4 separate regions of the Homo sapiens genome follow, and all the other regions are linked to region 2. The links are contacts of gene promoters, found by promoter capture Hi-C in human tissues and cell types (Jung and others, 2019). All regions are on one chromosome and are shown on one strand. The core of a region is centred on a gene start or on the middle of the fragment in contact, and the rest is flanking DNA. Distances in the headings are between cores, read along the strand shown.

Region 1 (5,593 bases), core at 2,447-4,946, 180 kb after region 2:
AAGGACAGTGGGGTGAGGGGATCTGGAGAGAAGGGAGGGAGAAAGGAGGTGGCCGAATTCAGAGCTGGGCCCTCAAAGCTCCTGGGTCCTGTCTGGGCTTGCCACAGTGTTACACAGGGACATCTGTCTGTCTGCTTCCAGATAGAGCTGGGAGCCAGAAGCCCTGGATTCAGGCCCTGGCCCTGCTTCCTCCACCCCCAAACCATCACTGTGACCCTCATGGGTCCACTTCCCCCTCAGGCCTCAGTTTCCACTTTTGTAAAACAATGGCCCTGGCTCTGCTTCCTCCGCCCACAAACCATCACTGTGACCCTGATGGGTCTACTTCCCCCTCAGGCCTCAGTTTCCACTTTTGTAAAACGAAGGCATCAGACCAGTGATTTAAGCTCCAAACCTTCTGTCTGAATCCAGGCACCCTCCCACTCTACCCTGTCCAACCCCTGCCCAGCATGCTGGATCCACGGGCCCCTGAGTGTCTATGGTTTCAGAGTCAGAGGCCTTATCTCTACTCCTGTCTCCTGCTTTCATAGCTGTTGCCTTTGAGGATTCTGTCATCCCCATTTTACAGGTGGGGAGATGGAGGCATGAGGCATTGAAGCCAATTGCTCAAGGTCACAGAGGGTGATTTGAAATCCAGGGCTCCCTCCTCTGGGCCCAGGAGAGCCGCAGAACTTAAGGGCACCTTCTTTCAGGAGAATCGCCAAGATCTTAAGTGGCCAGCCGTTCTCTATACAGATGTGGACTCCACATGAGGCAAGGGGCTGCCCAAGGTCACAGAGCAAGGCACTGACAGACCAGGGTCCTGAACCAAGCCTCCCTGCCCCCAGGCTCCACCCAGACAGGGGGCTGGCAACATGACCTGACTTTCTGCCCTGGTCCTGGGATCTCCCCAAGACTGGAGCCCACGTCCTGCCTCTAGCCGCTGCCCCCAGAAGCCCCCGAGCATCTAGGGCTGAGATGGGAAGAGTGAGCAGGAAGACAGGAAAGAAAGTTGAGGGCTGGCCACTTGCCCCCGGCCCTCTGGCCCTCCCCTACTGCTCTCCTCGTGCAGGGGGAGCGGCGGCGGTGGTGATGTAATGCACTCGGCTTTCGTCCCGGTGCCAATCTCAGAAGAGAGACGACAGATTGCGTGAGCCAAATTTGGCATCCTAGGGGGAGAGGCATGAAAAGTGGAGATGTGGAGGAGCAGAGAGGAGCCTGGGGTGGTGCAGGAGGAGCCCCCTGCCCTACAGCCCCGAGGTGCCTCCCCTCCCTCCCCTCAGGGCCCCCATCTCTTCCCCAGCTAGCCTGGCCCTGGGGCCTCCCCTCCTCACTCTGAGGGGCCAGCCTGGCTTCTCCCCGGACCCCTTGAGCCCGGCACTGCCAGGCCTACCCGCCACCCCCACCCCACACTGCTCCAGCTCTGTTTCCCACCGCCGCTAGTTTCCTGGTTACCATGTTGCCGGTTGTCATGTCGCTTACATGTCCTCGTGACTCAGTGGTCCCCGCAGAGGGGCCCCCTCCTCCTCACACCCCCCTTAGCACTCGCCCCCGCCTCCCCCAGATCCACATTAAGAACCAGCCCGCCCTGTAAGCCTACACTGTTCCTCCTCCCCTTCCTTCTTATCCTAAGCTAAGACATCTTCTCACAGCATCTCCCAGAGCTACTTCATTCTCTCTTTCGCAAATGTCTACGAACCTACTATGCTCCAGGCTGGCGCACGCGGCTTTCACAGACCTGACACAGTCTGGAAACTGCTCAACACCCTGATGAAGTCAGTATCATCATACCTATTCTCCAGTTGAAGAAACTGAGGTTCAGAGAGGTCAAGCCACCCACCCAAGGTCACCCAGCAGAAACTCAACCAGCTCTGCCTGGTCACAGCCACTCCAGAGGATTTTCTGAGAGAAGAGCTTTCTTTTCAAGGATAACCCAAAGGGCCATGAGGAATTGTACCCCAGATTCCCCCTCTAATCCTGGACACTCCTCCTTCGTCAGCTATTTCCGCCATATTCCCACTGCCCCACGCCCACCTCCACCCACTAGCTGTTCATCTCTCTTAAGGTAAAGTGAGTCTTTACTCCCATCTCCCCAGTGCTTTCCCCAGCCTGTGAACAGCCCACTGCTCATTGAGCCCAGGGCCCGCCTTGGAGGTCACTGGGGCAGGGAGTGACGTCCCCATGCCACAGATGTGGAAGATGACGGTTGGGAGGAGAGTGACCAGCCCAGGGGGCTGCTCTCCCAGCCACCTGAGCTAATTTCTGGGAGGCTGAATGGAGGACATATGAGACCCACTGCCCAGTGTGGAACACCCCAGAAAGAGTCCCTCCTCCCAGTGAGAATGGAGTGGAATGTTCTAGGCTCAGCCCTTCCAACTCCAGTTGGGATATGGGTCAGTTCAGTGGCCAACAGTCTCTGTTCCCACCATGCTGCACCCATCTCTTACCCCAGCTGCCCTGGTCCACCTTTTGCTCCCCTCAGCACAGGCCAAGCCAGGGCCACAGTGAGGCTCTTGGGCCCCTAAAGTCCTGCTAACTGCCCCCAAAAGGCCTGAAGCCATGGAGGTCATGGGACTGGATGTGGGGGAGAACACACACACACACGGCTCCAACCCTTCTCTGGGCCTCCCTCCCTGAGTTCCCCACTTCCCCCAAACCTGCTGCTGAACATTCTACTGCTCTTGAGGCCCTGCTCTGTCAGCTGGCCAGGCTGCCCTGCCTCTAGCCCGCCGCTCCACCCCACCCAGCTTGCCACCTCCCAACTCCCTGCATCCTGTCCATCCTGAAGCAGGGACACTGGGGGCAGAAATGTGGGTAGGGGGCAGGGAGGCTGACACTGGTGGGGGGACATTTGGCAGGTTGCAGGGGAAGTTCTCCCTGCGGGAGGCTCATTGAGACCTCTCTTGCCTTGGGGTGCTCCCTACACACGGAGGAAAAAGCAGCCTCTGCCTCCCTCCCCAGCCTGTGTCTATCACTGTGAACGTGCAGTGCCTCCTCTACCAATCCCTGCCCCTGCGCCCTGGGGTCGTGTGGCGCCAAGTAGGTGCTCAAAACATGAGAAGTGAGATTTCGTTCTTCAGATCACAGGGCCATTTGCAACGAGGATGCAGCTGGGGAGGCGGAAAGGCGGCATCCCCCACCTTGCCACAAGTCACCTGCCTTGAAGCTCCCCGGCATGACAACTGGGGTGGGTGGAGGCAGGGAAAGGTCATGGCTGGGGCAGGAGGTCAAGACCCCTTCCACCCACCTCTCTCCCCCTTTCCAGGCCACAACCCAGACCGCGACGCTCCCAGACGGACAGACGGACAGAGCCCGCCCGTGGAGCCCGCCCGCTCCCGGGGAGTCACGGGACCGCGCGCGCGGCGCCGGGCAGCCGGGACCCGGCTCCGGATCAGGTGCGGAGCGGGCGGGGCCGGAGCGGCGGGCCCGGGACACACAGACACGCACGCGGCGGGACAAACTGACGGACAGCGCCCGGGGTGGGCGAGCGCGGCTTACCGCTGGGCGGAGGGTCCGACGAGAGTCCGGGAGGCGGCGAGCGGGCGCTACATCCCAAGGCGCGATCCGGCGGGCGGCGTCCCGGGCGCGGAAAGGGGAGTCCCGGCGCCCCCTGCCCGCGAACTCGGCCGGCCGGCCCGCGCTCCCCTCCCCGGCTGCCGCTCGGTCTGCGCGTGGGTCTTGGGGTCTCCGCGCGTCCCGGCCGTCCCGCGCCGCTCCCCGCGGGCCGCCCAACTTTCAGCGCTGCCCCGCGCCGCGCCCTCGGCGCCGCCTCGGCGTCAGCATCGTCGGGCCCGGCCGGGCTCACAGCGCGGGGGTCCGGGGGCCCGGGGCGCCCCGCCGCCCGCGCCCCCCACCCCCGCTGCAGGCGCCCTCCCCGCCGCCGTCCCCCGCTGCGCCCAGCTCCCTCGCTGTCACCCGCTCCTGCTCGCGCGCTCTGCCCCCGGCCCTGCGCTCCACTCCCGGCCCCGCTGCGCTCGGCCCCGGCCCCGCGACCCCTCGGCCTCCCGGCCTGGGGTCGCCCTCCCCGCCCCCGCCGGCCGGGCTCTGTCGCCACCTCCCCGACCGCTCTCGCGTCTCTCTCCTGCCGCCGGGGTCTCCGCCGCGCTCGCGTCCCGGTCCCTCTCCCGGCCTCCCTGCCTCCTGCGGCCCCGCTCGCCCTCTGCCCGCGGGGTCTCCGTCTCCGTCGCGGTCGCCCGCCGGCCTCCCCCCGCCTCCCTCTGCCCGCGCTGCCTCTCTCCCCTGCGCGTCTCTGTCCGTCTCCCTCGCGGCCCCTGTCCTTCTCTGTCTCTCCCCCTCCCACTCTCCGTGCGGCCCCCTCTGTCTCGGACCCCGGCCCCCGCCTTGGCCGCGTCCCCGGCTCGCCCGGGAGCCCGAGCTCCCGCCGCCCGCGGCGCGCCGAGAACTCCCAACTCGCGGCACGCCGCCCCGCTTTGCGAGACTTTCGCCCCTCCTCACACGTGACCCGCGCCCCACTGCGGAGGCCGCGCGCCCCCCAGCCCGGGAGCCCCGGCTGCCCGCGGGACCCCGCCCTGCCCGCCCCTCGGCCTAACCCGGCCTCAAGCCCCCTCCCGCGGGGCCCGCGGCGCGGAGCAGGGGCTGGGGCGGGGGGCTGCTGGCCCCGCTCCTGCCCTGGATCCTGCCCGGGTTTTCCTCCTCGCCCCAGGAGCGCTCCTCCCAGAACCCGTTCCTGGATCCGCTCCCGGGTTTTGTGCCCCCCCCCCAAAAGGGGGCAGGTGGAGAGGGTTCCTCCGAGCCGGGAAGGGGGGTGGGTGGGAGCTGGTCCCTCTGGGGTCCCACGGAGTCCGCCCCTCTCCTTAGCGGTCCTCGTACTCTCCCAAAGTACCGCCGGTCAAGGACCCGAAGCACCTCACTCTGGGAGTCTGAGGGGGCCCTATTGGAGGGACCCTCGCGATCACTCAGTCACCACTGCCCCATTTTACAGATGGCGAGACTGGGTACCAGAGAGGGTCAGAAACTCGGCCAAGGTCACCCAGAGATGACAAAGCCAGGCCAAACCCTAGTCTCTTATTCTCTGTCGCTCTCCATTACCCCAAGCTGTCAGGCCTGGGCCCCACACTCTGGGGTGTCAGGGAACCCCCAGCACCCACAGCACCTGTCTAGCCAGCTACATCCTGACCATCCTGCCACGTCACTCTAGCCCTCCGAGGAGACAGGAGGGAAAGTGCTCCTCCTTCCAGGGTGGTAGGACGAGAGAACACCTGCAGTTAGACAGCCAGCAAAACTTCCCTGGGAGTCTGGCCATCACCGACTAGCCCCATTACAGAGAGGGAGAGACCGAGGCACCCCAAAGCCAGGTGGAGAACTGATGAAATCTGAAATCCCCTCTGGCTCTCCTGAGCCTCGAGGATGTCAGCATAAGAACAGCAACACACAAACCACCACAAGTGTTTCCCTTCCTCGTGGGCTCTCCCTACTCAAAAGGATTCAGTCCCAACTCCTCAGTGTGGTATAGTCAGGCCCCACCTTATCCGGCATCCCACATCCCATAAATCCACAGGTACACCCTGATTCCACAGATTCCAGAACACGCCACAGGCCTCCACACCTCTCTGCCTGCACGCACTGTTCCTCCTCACTAAGATATCCTTCCACC
Region 2 (5,083 bases), core at 2,280-4,779:
TTGGATTACAGGCATGAGCCACCACGCCCAGCCTAAGACTCTGTCTTAAAAGAAAAAAAAGTTCCAGCTGACCAGGCATGGTGGTTCACACCTATAATCTCAGCGCTTTAGAAGGCCAAGGTGGAAGGATCTCCTGGGCCCAGGAGGTAGAAGCTGCAGCAAGCTACGATAGCACCACTGCATGCCAAGCTGGGCAACAGAGCGAGACTCCATCTCAAAAAACAAAAAAAGTTCCAGCTCAGAGAAGCCAGTTCCCAGCAGGCAAGGGGTCAGCAGTGGGGCAGACACCGTTACAACAGTGGGCTCCAGAACCTGCCCTGAGTCACACAGGGTCTTCAAGACCAAAAGCTGCTAGAAGACAACAAGAGAAAGGCGGCGGGGTCTAAAAGCGATGCCAGGGGCTGTAGGAAAGCCAACGGAACAAAGGCCTGGTCTTCCAGAAGTTCTCTGCAGGAATGAAGGAGGGATGAGAAGGGATGGTAATACTGCCCCATAACACATGGCTGAGCATGTCACATCCTTCCAGAAACTTTCAAGGCCTCCCTGTTGACATCAGGATCAAGTTCAAACTCCTTGGCGGGGCCTCCAAAGGTCTTCAGGACACAGACCCAACACAGTCACAGGCAGTTCAAGCCTCTGCGTCTGAGAGGTGAGGCAGCTCAGACCTCCACATCTGCCCGGAGTTCCCTCTACCTGGAACGCCCTCCTTCTCCTTCATAGGTGGAGCACCCCTCGTCCTTCAGGGCCAAGACGACTTCCAGCACCCCAGGGTTATGGGGGAGGAGCATGGGCTCTGAGGTCAGACCTACTGGTTCAAAACTCAGCTGTTCCACTCTCTGCTGCCTCCCCTACAAAATGCAGACAGTGACAGCCCCCACCACACTGGGTGGTAGGAAAATTAAATACAGTAATTCATGAAAGCGCTTTGAACTGTGCCTGGCACACAGTAAGTGCTCAATAAACGGACTGTTGTTCCTATTGTCCTCTGGGCCCCTTTAGGGCCCTCTGTTTCCACCACAAGTAGGGCACTGTCTTGCACATATTTGTTACACATTGGGCTCCCTCTGCCAACCACCTTTTAGAGGGCTGCCCCAGCACAGTGCAGGGCAGCATGGTCTTCGGTGAGTGCTTACTACCCGGGGCTGCAGGGCCTGGTGCAGACCCCACACAGAGCTCTCCCAGGGGCCCAGCTATTGGCCTTCCAGAACTCCCACACCAGATCCCCAGTCTAAAGGCCCAGAGCTGTGACTCGTTTTCAAAACAATAAAAAGCTGTACCCTGCCTTGCCGGGGCTGTTTCCACTCCAGGGAATTTACAGAGAGAAAATGAGCACAGCAGGGACTGGAAATAGCTCTGAGCCCTTCTCAGGGTGAGGGACTGGGCAGGCCAGCCAGAGACCAGGAGCAAAACCTCTAAGACAGAGAGGGAGCAAACAGCCTCCGGACAGAAGCCCCTGCTCACAGAACTCGGCCAATAGGAAAGAACTAGGACAAGTGGCTCATTCACCCTTCTGCCTCGAAGCTCTTCTTTCTACTTGGTTGGAGAAATTCAGAAGGGGCTCTTTGAATAACCCACCACCACCGTGGGTGCAACAAATAAGACATCCAGAATCCCAACGACTGCACAAATGCTTTGGGGGAATTCACAGCGCCTTCTCCACCCACATTAGCTATTGGAGCCTCGTATCCAGATTGGGGTCACTAAATCAGTGTCCATCTTCCCAGCACTGGGAGCCCCTAGAAGGCAGGCACCAGGTCCCATTGATCATCAGACCGCTATGCCCCAGCATAGTGCCTGGCACATAGTAGATGCTCAGTAAGTTGCAAGACAAGATCTGGCAGCAAGAGAGAGGTCCTGGTTAAAGGATGATTCCATCCAGGCTTGCCACGTATCGTGGAGAAGAACGTCATGAATTCCCTCTGGGCCTCAGTTTACCGCATCTGCAAATAGGGACAACTGTTCCTTACTCACACAGCTGCTGTGCAAATTACACAGGAAAATATATGTGGAAAGCAGAAAAGCCTCAGATGAACGTCAGTCATCCTTCAGGCTTCAGCTCAACCGTCTCCTTATGAGGGAGTCTTTCCTGCGGCCACGATCCCCCTCCCCGGGAACTGAACCTGCCTCTGTACTCCTTCTACTCCTTTGTTTGGTATTTTTCACATCATCGTGATCACCTGTTTCCAAATCTGATTCCCCCATGCTTGAGAGCTCCTTGATGGCTTGGGCATCAAATGTTTCTGTCCAGGTGGGCACACATACCTGGCTGCTGGGGCTCTCCCACCCCAGCGTCCCAGGTCCCAACTCTGATACGCACAGCACCCTAGGCAAGGTTCAGAGGTGCAGAGCCTAGGGGTTCTACCAAGGAAGCTAAATAGGTAGATGGAAAGGGACACTGTAGGCATAACCTGTCAACGAAGTCACACCTCTGAGACCTGCGCTGCCTCTGCAGGTGCAGGTGAGCTTGTTTGCCTGGCTGACTCTGCAGCGCAGGGCCTCCAGGGCACAGATTGCTGCTTCTTTCCTTACAAAAGCACCAGCAGTCAGATAAATAATACATGGCCTTCACCTCACCACAGGTATCAGGCATGCAAATACCTGCTTTGCCCCAAAATGCCCTGGAAAGGAGGGAGGAGTAAAACGTCTGGCCTTATACAACACCTCCAGAGGGGATATGTATTGGGAATCCATGCCCAACCCCCAGCATAACTGCCTTGCCTTGGCCTGGAGCCACCCAGCACTGGAGGTAAGTGGATCCAAGCGAGGTACCAAGGGTGTGCCCAGGAGGAAATGTACAATTCACGGGAAGGATACAGACACCCAAAACCAGTCTCCACGGTCCCTTTGGGGGCAAACATCTTTCGAGCCCCAGGTCCCAGTCGATCCCCTTCCAAACCTGCGGACCTGTGTGGCGGGCGTGTACACCCTCCACTCACGACGCAGCCCCGAAAGCCCCCCGCCGACCACCCTCCCAGGTCACTGCCACCCGCACAGGGCACGGACGCCTCCCCCACTCACTCGGCCGTGCCAGTCGCCAGCACACCCACCCGGGAGCACACAATCCCTCTTGCAAAGCGCCTTGGTCCATCCGCCTCCCTCTCCCGGGGCCGCCCCCCGGACAGGTCCGATTACACTCCAGGAGCTGCCCCCGCCACGTTGGCGTGGAAAGGGAGCGGGCACACCCACGGGCGACCTCGCGGGGCGGAGAGGAGGCACGGGTGGGGAGACGGATGCCCCCTCCCTCCGCGGCCGCACCGGCCTCCGTAGTGCCCTCCCCGCCCGGGAGCCGGCGGCCGAAGCCGGGCGTCCCTCGCGCGGGCCTCTCCGAAACAAGCAGCCCCCCGCGCTCGGGAGTCGCAGCTCCCCCTTGGGGCTCCCGGGCGAGGCCGGCCAGGCGGGATACCTCAGGAGCCCATGGCGGTGGCGGCGTCTGCGGACGATGCGCGGCAGCCGGACTCTGCGGGCGGGGCGGGCGGCGCCGCAGCCCCGGAGTCTCCGCCGCCGCCGGCGCGTCCCGGGCCCAGTGGAGTGCAGCCGCGGCGCGCATGCGCTCTGGGCTCGCCGCCGGGGAGGGCGGGGCGGCGGACGCGGCTGAGATCACTGCCTGGGCCTTAAAGGGGCCGCGCCCCGAACCCCAGCCCGCCGCCCCGAACCCCAGCCCGCCGCCCCGCGGGTTGGGGCGCGACCCGGGTTCTCTTGCCACTCACAAAACCAGCTACGACCGGCCCCCAACCGCGAGAGCTTTCTGGGCTGCGATCTCTGCCCCTGACCCTCGCTGGTGCTTCACTTCTTTTAACCCTAATTTCCTCCATTTGAGCCTGTTTTGAAGATGAAACGAAATACAATGGCTATTTGTTGAGTGAAGGATGCGTGTGGAATTGTGGAATGAACGTGGACCGAGTGTTGTGTGCAATTAGGCCAGATGAAATGGCAAAGCACTGAAAGAGGCCTTTTTTTCCCACTCCGCTTAGCAGCGATTCTTTCTTGCCCCGTCTGGCTCTAGGCTGCCGAACTAGCAAAAGTCTTCAGATAGGGTTCAAGCCGCCTAGTCCATTTCTGTTTGCCGGTCCAGACATCACCTAGGTTAACTGAACAAGATAAAATGCAATTAAGTTCTGGCATTGATGTGCTCAAGATCCCCAAATGTATTTATGTCTCCAGACTCCTCGCCTGAACTGTCTACCCAACACCTCTTCCTTGGAGCTCCAGCAGGCATCTCAAAGTCAGCGTGTCTGAGCTGAGCCAACCCCACTTCCACACACAAAAACCTGCTCCCTCTCAGCTTTGCCTCCATCAGCTGTTGACAATTCCATCCTTCCAGTCCCCAGGCCAGAACTCGGAGTCAGCTGTGAATGAATGCCCCCCTTCTGCCCGCTACCCAATAAGGCAGGCAGGAGATCCTGTTGGCTCTACCTGCAAAATAGATCTAGACTCAGATGTCTGCCACTCCTCCTCCAGTGCTACCACCCTGGTCCAGTATTTGCACAGGATTATTGCAGAGTTCTGCTAACCCCTCTCCCTTGTTCCAGCCTTGCCCTCTGATCCATTCTATCAATTCAGGGGTGAGGGAGATCCTTTTTTTTTTTTCTCTTTTTTCTTTTTGAGACAAAGTCTCGCTCTTTGTCTCAAAGTTGCCCAGGCTGGAGTGCAGTGGCGCGATCTCGGCTCACTGCAAGCTCCGCCTCCCGGGTTCACGCCATTCTCCTGCCTCAGCCTCCCGAGTAGCTGGGACTACAGGCGCCCGCCACCATGCCCAGCTAATTTTTTGTATTTTTAGTAGAGACGGGGTTTCACCGCGTTAGCCAGGATGGTCTTGATCTCCTGACCTTGTGATCCGCCTGCCTCGGCCTCCCAAAGTGCTGGGATTACAGGCGTGAGCCACCACGCCCAGCCAAGATTCTTTTAAAATCTGCCGGGCACGGTGGCTCACGCCTGTAATCCCAGCACTTTGTGAGGTCGGGTGGCTCATTTAAGGCCAGGAGTTACAGACCAGCCTGGCCAATATGGTGAAACCTTGTCTCTGCTAAAAATACAAAAATTAGCTGGGTGTGGTGGTACATGCCTGTAGTCCCAGCTACTCTGG
Region 3 (5,256 bases), core at 1,106-3,605, 240 kb before region 2:
TGGATGGTTCAAGTTGGTTTCTGTTTTTGCTACCTGTGAAGCAGTGACCAGTCTGTCCTCCATTAACACCCCATCATCTGGGAGACTGCAAGCAAGCTAGGGAAGGCAGGGGATTTTGGGGTGTCTCTGTCCTGAGGCAGAGGATTGGATGCAGGGTTTCCCAGGGTCTTAGCCTTCACCAAGGCACCATCAGGTCAGTCCTGGTTGTGGAGCCTTCGTCCACGCTCCCTCCCATTCAGCCAAGAAACATTGATTGAACACCAATTGTGAATGAGCCTTGCAGGCTGGAGATGATTTCAAGAGGCAGAGTTAGGGGAAAGGCATTTTGGGAAAAGGGAATAGCGTGAGCCAAGGTGAGGCTGTTGCAGCAGCAGGAAACTAAGGAAGCAAGGGCCTTTTCCACAAGCATCATCTGTTCTTGTTTGGCTCAAGCGTGGGGGCAGCAAGGGAACAGTTAAGATGCAGCTGGGAAGATTGCCTGGGCCTGAAGCTGGGGATGGAAAACCCAGGGGAGGAGTCTGGACTTTTATTGGTGGCAAGTGGGAGATATCAATGGATTTTGAGCAAGAACGACTCCCCGAAGATCCCCAGATAGGGCTGGGAGCTTGAGAGAACCCACAAGCCCCCTGGGGAGCCAGGAGTCGGGCCCTCTGGACAGTCATGTGCTGGTAAATATGCTTCACAACCAGCTCTGTTTGTGGAGGTGGGAGACACAGAGGTAGACTGCCAATTTTCATAGTGGAAAAAGTCCCATCAGGGCAGGCTCAAAGCTTCCAAGGTAATATCAACTGGCTTCGATTCCAGAGACTTTCACAGTTGGCTCTCGGGAGCCAGTGTGCGCTGACTCCAGCGCACTGCCACACCCTGGGTTATAAACTGTATTTGCCCAAGACTGCTAGTGCTCAACCCTCCTTCTCCCCGATCATTCCCATGGTGCCCTGCAAACCGGAGCCCGAGGATAGAAAAGTACTCTGTGGTTTGTCCAAGCCCAGGGGACCGCCATGGTCTGAGACCCCAGGCCTGTGGGTCTGAGACTTAGCTCAGCTGCTTATGCACTGGGTGATTCAGGCACATCCTCACTTCTCTGGGATGACTTGCTTTGCAGGGTCACTCCCGGGATAAGAAGAGGTCATGCAGTGGGGAGGTGTGGGTGGGGGCAGGGTTGTGCTGGGAAGGCCTGGGGAGCGTGGTCAGTGGTTCCCCGGGGATCAGGAACAGGCCCTCTCCCACCCCACCCCCAGCTCAGTTGCTGGACAAATCCATCAGATCAGTCGGCTGTCACCAGTAGGGGGTGGGAAAGGCAGGGTCTGTGAAATGAGGGGCCCTGGGACAGGACGAGGGCTGGAAGAGCTGTGAGAGGCCCTGGGCAAGAGGTAAGGAAGCAGGCTACAGACCACCAGCACTTCAGACCCTGCCAATGGAAAGACGGGTCTTGGCAAGTGTCGGTGTCGCCCCCTCCCTCCTTGTCCCTTGGGAAACTCCTACTACTCTGTCAGGCCTCAGCTCCAGCACACCTCTTCCAAGACGCAGGGGTTAAGAGCGAGAGTTTGGGTGTCATTCCATCTGCAGGGCCCTGGACAATCTGCTTCATCTTTTTCAAACTCATCTGTAAAATGCGGACAGTAATACCACAGAGCCTGCAGGATGGTTGCAAGGATTAAATGAGATGTTCTTGGCACGGAGGAGCCTACTTCTGACAACAAGGATGCCCTCGTTCCTTGGCTACTTCTCCTACCCACGTCCCCCCACAAGGTAGACTTGGCCCTCTGAGTCCTCACCACACCACCCTCTTAGCCCAGGTAGTAATTACAGTCATGTCTGTCTCCTCCATGGAACAGTGAGCCCCTAAGTGTGGGGACTGGGTCTGATTCACCACCAGGTCCCCAGAGCCCAGTGCAGGACCTGGGCAGGCACGGACTTCACACCCTGTGCCGCTGTCCAGGTCCCCACCAGCACCAACACCCTGTCCCAGGCGCCTGATGTCACAGGTGTCCCGGCTGAGTGGCAGCTCCTCACTCAGCTTCCACTTCCTCACGTGTGACCCTGGTGACCTCCGAAGGTTGCTTCCAGCCTGAAAGTGCTGTGAGTCCATGTCTCAAACCCGCGTCACCATGCTGCCCCCAGACCAACCCCTCCCCGCTTCCCTGCCCCATCAACGGCCCCACTGTTCTCCAGTGACCCAGGCATGAAGCTTCGGAGTCATTTTTGACTCATCCATCCCCTTCATCCCCTATGGCTAGTCATCGGCCATGACAATTTTTCCTTCCAAACACATCCGTAGTCCCCTCCCCAGCATTCTAGTCCCCTCTGTCTTGGCCTCTGTTTTGGTCTGAAGTCTGGAGATTTTGTCCAGTTTCTTTTTTTTCTTTTACTTTTTTTTTGAGACAGGGTCTTGCTCCGTGGCCCAGGTTGGAGTACAATGGCGCGATCTTGGCTCACTGCAGCCTCAACCTCCTGGGCTTAAGTGATCCTCCCACTTCAGCCTTCCAAATAGCTGGAAGCCTAGGCACAAGCCACCACACCCAGCTAATTTTTAATTTTTTTGTAGAGACAGGGTCTCACTCTGTTGCCCAGGCTGGTCTTGAACTCCTGATCTCAAGCAATTCTCTCACCTTGGCCTCCCAAAGTGCCAGGGTTACAGATGTGAACCACTGCACCACACCTGGCCTGCTTTTATCCATTTTCTAACTGGCCAGTGTCCTCTCACCTTCCACCACAGCCATCTTCCCAGGAGAGCTCTGGAGTTCCACTGTTACGGTCCTCCCAAAAATGCACAGCGGGTATCTGACAGGGGAAACTGCTTCACACCCATCACCTGCCCCTGAATCCATCAGTCAGGAGCCGAGCTGCTGCCTCGAGGCTGAGTGTGCCCAGGAGAGACCGGGGTCTCTGCCCACAGTCAGGCACATAGTCCACTGAGCTCTGCTATTCCTTAGGCCCAACACTGGGCATGGGGCAGGGAAACCAGGATGCTTGAGGCATAGGCCCTGTCCACACCCTGATTGGGGACATGGATGGATGATGCCACACTGACACAGTGTGCTGTAGGAACCAACGTGGGGTGGCGGACGCCCCTCATGCTGCCTGGAATCAGGACGTGTCACAGAGGACAGACAGTCGAGCTGGGTCTTGAGGAATGAGCAGGAGTTCTGCGGAGAGGGTGCTTCAGCAAGGAAGCTGCCTGGATGCGCAGTTATGAAGGCCTGCAGGGGCAGGAGGGGTGGCCACGGTGGGAGGTGGGGAGGCCAAGCTGAGAAGGGCTCCGTGGGCCACTGGTGAGCTGCCTCTGGAATCCCTTACTGCCGTCCATAATTCATGTCCCCCACACGGAGCATGACATAATTCATGTCCCCCACATGGAGCATGACATAATTCATGACCTCCCAACCTGTGACGCAACACCTCCTTGTAAACATCAAAGCAGCCATCTGTGAGCCATCTTTGAGCCCAGGAGGTTGAGGCTGCAGTGAGTTGTGATCATGATACCGCACTCCAGCCTGGGCCCCAGAGTGAGACCCTGTCTTAAAAAAAAAAGAAAGAAAAAAGAAAATTAAAAAAAAAAGGAAGTGGACAAAATCTTGAGATTTTGCACAGAGCTGTCCTCCCTAGTTGCCCTGTCTTTCTTCGCCAGCCTTTTCAGGTGGACGGGGCATGGCTTATCTCTCCCATTTTACAGATGAGGACTCTTGAGACCTACAGAGAGAAAGCGCTTGTCCAGGGCGGCCTGCTAGGCTCTGGTAGAGCCAGGGCTGGAATTTCCCTGGCCCCAGATCCCAGAGTCTAGAGGTTGCAGCGGGGTTCAAGCCTGGTTACCCAGTCCCTCTGGGGTAGGGCTGGTTCTGTAGGACCAGATGGGGCGACAGACAGGCCCAGCTGCTGGGAACTCCAGGACCAATCACCAGTGCCCACAGAGCCTCGCCAAGGCAAGCCCTGCTGGGCTGGCACAGCCTCTGAGGCCAAGCCTGCTCCCCCAGTGCAGTGGGGGTTGGGGGATGGGATCTGGCCCCGGCGGAGCGGGAGGGACTGGGTGGCGGATTTGTGTTTCCACTTGATTTCCTCAGTTGTTTTCCAAGAGCGGTGGCAGGATCCTGAGGGGAGGGGTGGATGTGGGGAAGCCACCGGAAGGCGCCACGGCCCCGCTGCCTGCCCCCCATGTGACTCCACTGACTGACGACAGTGCCCGTGGAAGGGCCTCGAGGCTTCTGTCCTGTGCTCGCTGGGAGAGGGTGTGACGTGGACGAGGGCACTGGGCGACTCCTCATGACCCATGCTGACTCTAAGTTTGCTGCTCACTTGGGGCCCCAACCCCTTTGATTCTGGGAGTCAAGAGAGGTTGTGACCGCCGCTGACCCCTATTCCCTGCACCATCCCAGGGGTCAAGTGGCTGGGGCCGAACCCGGACAGGGCAGGAGTGCCCCAAAACCTAGGGCTTGGCATGGCCCCTTGGTGTCCTCCCGACTCCCCTTGTCAGCTCCTTCCGCCTCCCCTTCTGCTTCCTCTACTCCCACCGTTTCAGCCTTGCTGCCTCACCACCACCATCTGTCCCCCAGCTCCTTGGGCCTGTCCACGCTGCTCCTCATCCCCACTAGTTGTCTTTTCCGCCTTCCAGGGCTGCACTGGGCTCTCACTGGGCCTCGGGCCACAGCCTCTTCCCTTCCATGCACCCCTGCGTCCCAGGCCTGGCAGCTTCCCCAGGCCTGTCACAGAGGAGTGGGGTCAGCCACTCCTGGCTTCAGAATCTGCTCGGCCACTTCCTGGCCACGTGGCGGCAGGCAGGTCCCAACCCTTCTCTGGGCTCCAGCTTCCTCCTCCAAGAAGCGGGGGAGGGGATAATGCAAAACCAGCGACCTCCTGCACCAGCTCTAAGGAGACCGAAGTGCCCAGCATGGGGCGGGGTGCGGAGGCAGCCAAGAGCTCAAAGGAGAGCCAGGCCACTTGGAGTTGAAATCCCAGCGCTGACACCAGCCGTGCAGCCCTGGACCCCTCTCTGAGCCTCAATGTCCCCCTCTGTAAAATGGGGATAATAATAGCAGCTTCCCCTTGGGACAGAATGAACTAATCCCAGGGGAGACCTGTCAGCCTGGGCTTTCTGGAGGGGGTTGTGCCTGCGCAGCTCGGAACAATGAGTCAGAAGCAGCCAGCAGAGACACAGAGCGCACTGGAGGTGGGGGCAGGGCTTGAGCAGAGGCCAGAGGAGAAACCAGTTGGGAGCTTTCGGCCCAGGGCTGGGAGTGGTGGGAGGTGAGACCTGGGGCC
Region 4 (5,506 bases), core at 340-2,839, 220 kb after region 2:
CTGAGTTAGACCTGTTTAGCTCAGAATAGTGGGCTAAACTACCATAAAATTCTCTGTATATCTTAAATGGTAATGGGTCAAAAACTCCAGAAAATCATCAGTTGATAACACACCTACAGATAAGTGCATGGGTAGGAGGGGATAGCCAAGTGCCCATGATAATTTGACCTCAGTAAATTAAACTGGGCAATACACATATTTGCTATTCTGATACTGCATTAGACTTATAAAATTCCATCTAATAAGCATTCATAAAACTGGACCTCTCTGTATATATCTAGCTTAGACAGGGATAGGGAAAAGAATAACTGAAGAAACTAGCTTACAATAGCTAGGTTTCGTCAGGCTTATTCTATCCAGCCAGAAACCACCACCAGAGAGAAGCTGAGCCATTCAGCTGTCTGTCTCCTCTCCCTCTGTTTGAATAGTCATGCCTAGGCCTTGCTGCAGACCAAAGCCTGTTTGTTAGGAGCAGGAAGAGACTTTGAAAATAAAAGGGGGGTGGGGGAAACCAAAGTTAAAAAAAATTGTGGGGGGGGCAGGGAATGGGGAGAATCACGCTTTGTATTTTTTTCTTTCAAATATTTATCTAACCACATGTATATACAACTTTCTAAACTTGAAGTCTGAATTTGAAATGACGAATCTTTAAACCAAAAGATACATATACCATTGACAGAGACACCTATCTATACAAACCTAGCCCACGGGAGGCTACATCTGTAGCAATAAGGATGGGTGCCTTTCCAGAACGGAACTCTGTAAAAACAAACAATAATCATCATCAAATAAGCATTCCTTGCTATCTGATCTGTTTACATAACCATGTTAAAATTTCAAATAATGGTGCCAGAAAATCCCAAGCTCTTGTAATGACTGACAGTGATTCTTTTGAAAATCTTTATTACACTCATATTCAGCAGCACAATAGTTACCTCTACTAATAATGAAATACCGTTAAGAGAGTGTGGCAATTTGTTACATAATTAATATGAGCTAGATTTTTTTCCCCTTAAAGTTATTTCCCAAATGAGACACAACCAAAAGTTGGGGGTCAGTAGGAAACAAGTTCAAAAGATGTAGAATGAAAAGAACTGAATTTCCCCCCAAAAGGTATGCATATTATTTATTTTTCTTTCTTTTTTTTGAGATGGAGTTTCGCTCTTATTGCCGAGGCTGGAGTGCAGTGGCGCAATCTCAGCTCACCGCAACCTCCACCTCCCGGGTTCAAGCGATTCTCCTGCCTCAGTCTCCCAAATAGCTGGGATTACAGGCATATGCCACCATGCCCGGCTAATTTTGTATTTTTAGTAGAGACGGGGTTTCTCCATGTTGGTCAGGCTGGTCTCGAACTCCCAACCTCAGGTGATCCGCCCACCTCAGCCTCCCAAAGTGCTGGGATTACAGGCGTGAGCCACTGTGTCCGGCCACATTTTATTTCTTAAACAAAATATGGCCTCTTCCATTTCTCAATGGCTTCCCTTAAGAGTAGTCCTGAAAAAAAGGACTGAAAGGAAATATGCTAAAATATGACTCATTAAGAAACATTTTTCTTTAAATATTTCAGTAACAGTTTAATTCTCCCCAAACGGTAGTTATATTTTTATAATCAGAAGGAAAAAATTGAAGACTTTATTAATAAAGGGAGGGTGGTGAAAGTTGTGAAAAAGTTTAAAGAGCCAGCATCGTGGCCCTTAAAGAACCATGAGCACACGCTAAAAGTACCCTCAGTAATTCAATCAACTATACAACAGGGGTAAGACAAACTGGCCTTTGGGCCAAATCTGGCACAACGCCTATTTTTGCAAATAAATATTGTCTGAACATAGCCACGTTTATCTCTTTGAGACAGGGTCCCACCCTGTCACCCAGGCTGGAGTGGCACGATCTTGGCTCACTCCAACCTGTCTCCTAGACTCAAGCAATCCTCCCACCTCAATCTCCGGAGTCGCTGGGGTTACAGGCGTGCACCACCAAGCTTGGCTAAGTTTTGTTTTGTTTTGTTTTTCTTTTAGAGACAGGATTTCACTATGTTGCCCAGACCGGTCTTGAACTCCTGGGCCTAGGTGATCCACGCGCCTCAGCCTCCCAAAGTGTTAGGATTATAGGCATGAGCCACCAACGGTGCCCAGTCCAGGCCACTTCTTTACATATTATCTACAGCCTACAGCTTTTGTCCTAAAACAGCAGTGCTGAGTGGCTATAACAGAGACCACCATTTGGTTTACAAAGCCAAGCATACTTACTATGTGGCCCTTTACAGAAAGTTTGCCTATCCCTGAAATAGAGCATGAACATTCACTTATGGGCAGGGGGTGGGGAATCAACAGAAAATGCTTAGTTTTAAACTTACCATTAAGTACCCAATCTCTTTCTGGTTGACTCTTGTCTCCATGGATACACATAGCTGGCCAACTATCAGAAGAAAAGTGACCAATATTTTAAAAATCTTTTAAAGTGGAGAAAATCGAACTTTAAAGCCAAATGCTATCATGCAATTTTTGTAAGGTTTGTCAGGCTTCATGAATAGATGACTGTGCTCATTAAAAGAGCAAACTGCATGGATAGGCATTATTGAAATATTACACAACATTTGGAATACCAATTTAGAAATTTCCAGTTAACTATAAAACCAGAGGTTAATTGCCTTGGTGCTATACTCACCCATCTCTGCGCATCCTTCGAGTCAGATCATCACAGCGTCTCTTTGTCTCCACAAATATTATTGTTTTGTTTTCCTTTTCAGCCATTATTTCTTCCATTAGTTGGATCAACCTGAAAACATGACCAACAATGCAGTCATCACACAGAAAGTTATTATGTGGACGATTATGTCTGCAATATCAACTCCCAAGGCTACAGTACTTTCTTTGCACATTACGCTTTTAAAATTTTTAATAACTATTAGAGTACTGAGTCAGGTTCTGCTATGTGCTCAAGAAATACTAACTCATACCATCCTCACAGCAAGTCTCATGTAAGTGGTATTACTCCCATTTCACAGATGAAGAAACTGCAGCACCAAGACACAAAATTGTGCAAAATTATACAGCTTGTAATCAGCAGAGCTAAATTTCAAACTCAAGAATTCAGAATCCTTGCATTTAACCATAATGCTCTGACAAATGATATGATGATGGATTATCAGAAACCTAGCAATGCTTTTAATGTTCTCAGGCCTCAAAATATACTGGTTTCTACAGTACTAATTTTGGAGGGTTATTAGAAAAGGTTTATCAGCATTATCAAATCAGAGTAAAATATCTTTCATACTTGTGGTCTTTTTCACTTTCCATGCAGACATCCACTATCTGGAGGATGTTGTGGTTGGCACTCAACTCCAGATTGCCTACGTTGATCTGGGTGTAATCACGAAGGAAATCCTCTGCAAGCTGTCTTACTTCTTTTGGCCAGGTTGCACTCCACATCAGTGTCTGCCTATCAGGCTATCAAAAAAGGAAAGGCTTTCTTTCAGGCTAAGGAACTTGGACAAATGGCATAAAGACTGCTTATTATTAGCTTTACACACCCTGATTTGGTCAACAATTTTACGGATCTGGGGTTCAAACCCCATATCAAGCATTCTGTCAGCTTCGTCCAATACAAGGTAAGTACATCGGCGAAGATTTGTCTTTCCTGACTCCAGGAAATCTATCAGACGTCCAGGAGTGGCTATGCAGATCTCAACACCTGTAAAACAAAACCAATGATCGAGCCAATCGACTAGGTGCAGTGGCTCACAGCTGTGTTCTAGCACTTTGGGAAGAGGAGGCGGGAAGATCGCTTGAGGCCAGTTCACAACCAGCCTGGTCAACATAGCAAGACCCCGACTCTACAAAAATGCAGCAGCAGCAGCCCTGGTGGCTGTACTCAATGCTGCAGAGAAGCTATTTTTTTTTTTTTTTTTGAGATGGAGTCTTGCTCTGTCACCCAGACTGGAATGCAGTGGCACGATCTCGGCTCACTGCAAGCTCCGACTCCCAGGTTCACGCCATTCTCCTGCCTCAGCCTCCCCAGTAGCTGGGACTGCAGGCACCTGCCACCACGCCTGGCTAATTTTTCGTATTTTTAGTAGAGACGGGGTTTCACCATGTTAGCCAGGATGGTCCCAATCTCTGGACCTCGTGATCCGCCCACCTCGGCCTCCCAAAGTGCTGGGATTACAGGCATGAGCCACCGCACTGGCCCAGAGAAGCTAAATTTTAACAAAGTAACCGCAAAACCATGTCAGGACTTATGTACAATCACCAAATCCTCACAAAGTTTCCAGCCATGCTGAACCTTCTCTCTCAAAATAGCTGTTTTAGTCACATCTGAGAATTTCTAAGCTGCTGAAATTCTGAGTTTATCACAAGAACCCACTTTTTTTCTCCAATTTCCTCCACAGGAATTGGTAAAGTAAGATAAACTAACAATTCTTTTACACTATATATTATTACCTCTTTCCAAGTCTCGAATCTGGGGACCTTTAGGAGCACCTCCATAAATACAAGTACTCTTCAATCTAGAACATTTGCCATAGTCATCGGCCACCTGCTGTACTTGCTGGGCAAGCTCTCTGGTAGGAGCCAGAACTAGACACTGAAACCAACAAAAAGACACTTGAGACCTCATCCAAGGTTTAAAAAAAAAAAAAAAAAAAAGAAGAAACAAAATACAAAAAGCTAATTTAATTCTTTGCTGTCTAATCTAGCACATTAAAAGTGATGGGGTGAAGATCAGAAGTGGGGAATATTAGCACAATGGAATATAGAAAAAAATTATTAGAACTTCATGTTTAGCATTTGGAATGATACTGGTATCCTCGTCACTTTTACTATGACACATTATCAATCATTATAGTTTATATATACTGTTTAAGTGGAGATATAGATTGTATTACCTGGTTTTAAGTATACAACTCTCATTTACAGGTTGAGCATCCTAAACCCCCAAAACCAAAATGCTCCAGCAAGCATTTACTTTGAGGATCATATTGGTCCTCAAAATTTGGATTTGTTTTGTTTTCTGAGACAAAGTCTCACTCTATCGCCCAGGCTGGAGTGCAGTGGTGCAATGAAGGCTCACTGTAACCTCTGCTTCCTGGGTTCAAATGATTCTCCTGCGCCTCAGCCTCCTGAGTAGCTGGGACTAGAGGCAGGCACCACCATGCCCAGCTAATTATTGTATTTTTGTAGAGATGGGGGTTTCCCCATGTTGGCCAGGCTAGTCTCGAACTCCTGACTTCATGTGATCTGCCCACTTTGGCCTCCCAAAGTGCTGGGATTACAGGTGTGAGCCACCATGCCTGGCCTAAAATTTGGAATTTTGGATGGTCATCCTGACTTAAACTGGCAGAATGACACATTCCTGACCTCTAATTTAAGCACATCACCAGGTAGATAAGGCAAAAACAATGAAAATTTACATGTAATCTGACAAGACTGTGTACAATCTGGCCAAATAATACAAAAATCAAGGTATCATATACCATTCAAATTAAATTATGAAACTTGCTTTATATACT

Evidence for each region. Contacts are between HindIII fragments. The study calls those that stand out against the background at their distance.
Region 1: the fragment with the promoter of KCNJ4 here is called in contact with the fragment with the promoter of TMEM184B in region 2 in 2 of the 25 tissues and cell types used here (dorsolateral prefrontal cortex and neural progenitor cells).
Region 3: a contact is called between a fragment that was not itself captured here and the fragment with the promoter of TMEM184B in region 2, in 1 of the 25 tissues and cell types used here (pancreas).
Region 4: a fragment that was not itself captured here is called in contact with the fragment with the promoter of TMEM184B in region 2 in 1 of the 25 tissues and cell types used here (dorsolateral prefrontal cortex).

Annotation. Positions count from the first base shown.
Region 1 is chr22:38,451,503-38,457,095 of GRCh38, forward strand. It overlaps KCNJ4 (potassium inwardly rectifying channel subfamily J member 4), which reads right to left and starts at 3,697. Exons shown (of 2, transcript NM_152868.3): 1 at 3,478-3,697. RefSeq lists enhancers at 355-974, 975-1,593. The HindIII fragment of the contact is 19,664 bases long and covers 1-5,593 here.
Region 2 is chr22:38,269,481-38,274,563 of GRCh38, forward strand. TMEM184B (transmembrane protein 184B) reads right to left here and starts at 3,530. Exons shown (of 9, transcript NM_012264.5): 1 at 3,404-3,530. RefSeq lists an enhancer at 2,281-2,990 and a silencer at 3,053-3,682. The HindIII fragment of the contact is 18,337 bases long and covers 1-5,083 here.
Region 3 is chr22:38,029,635-38,034,890 of GRCh38, forward strand. It overlaps POLR2F-AS1 (POLR2F antisense RNA 1), which reads right to left and starts at 4,594. Exons shown (of 2, transcript NR_199596.1): 1 at 4,531-4,594; 2 at 2,538-3,521. It also overlaps a transcript of POLR2F not described here. RefSeq lists enhancers at 1,388-2,587, 3,599-4,874, 5,170-5,256. The HindIII fragment of the contact is 4,209 bases long and covers 252-4,460 here.
Region 4 is chr22:38,491,357-38,496,862 of GRCh38, forward strand. It overlaps DDX17 (DEAD-box helicase 17), which reads right to left. Exons shown (of 13, transcript NM_006386.5): 6 at 4,440-4,581; 7 at 3,530-3,690; 8 at 3,274-3,446; 9 at 2,665-2,775; 10 at 2,354-2,415; 11 at 700-759. Among named protein-coding and RNA genes, the nearest start is that of DDX17, 12 kb to the right of the region's middle. The HindIII fragment of the contact is 4,436 bases long and covers 1-3,807 here.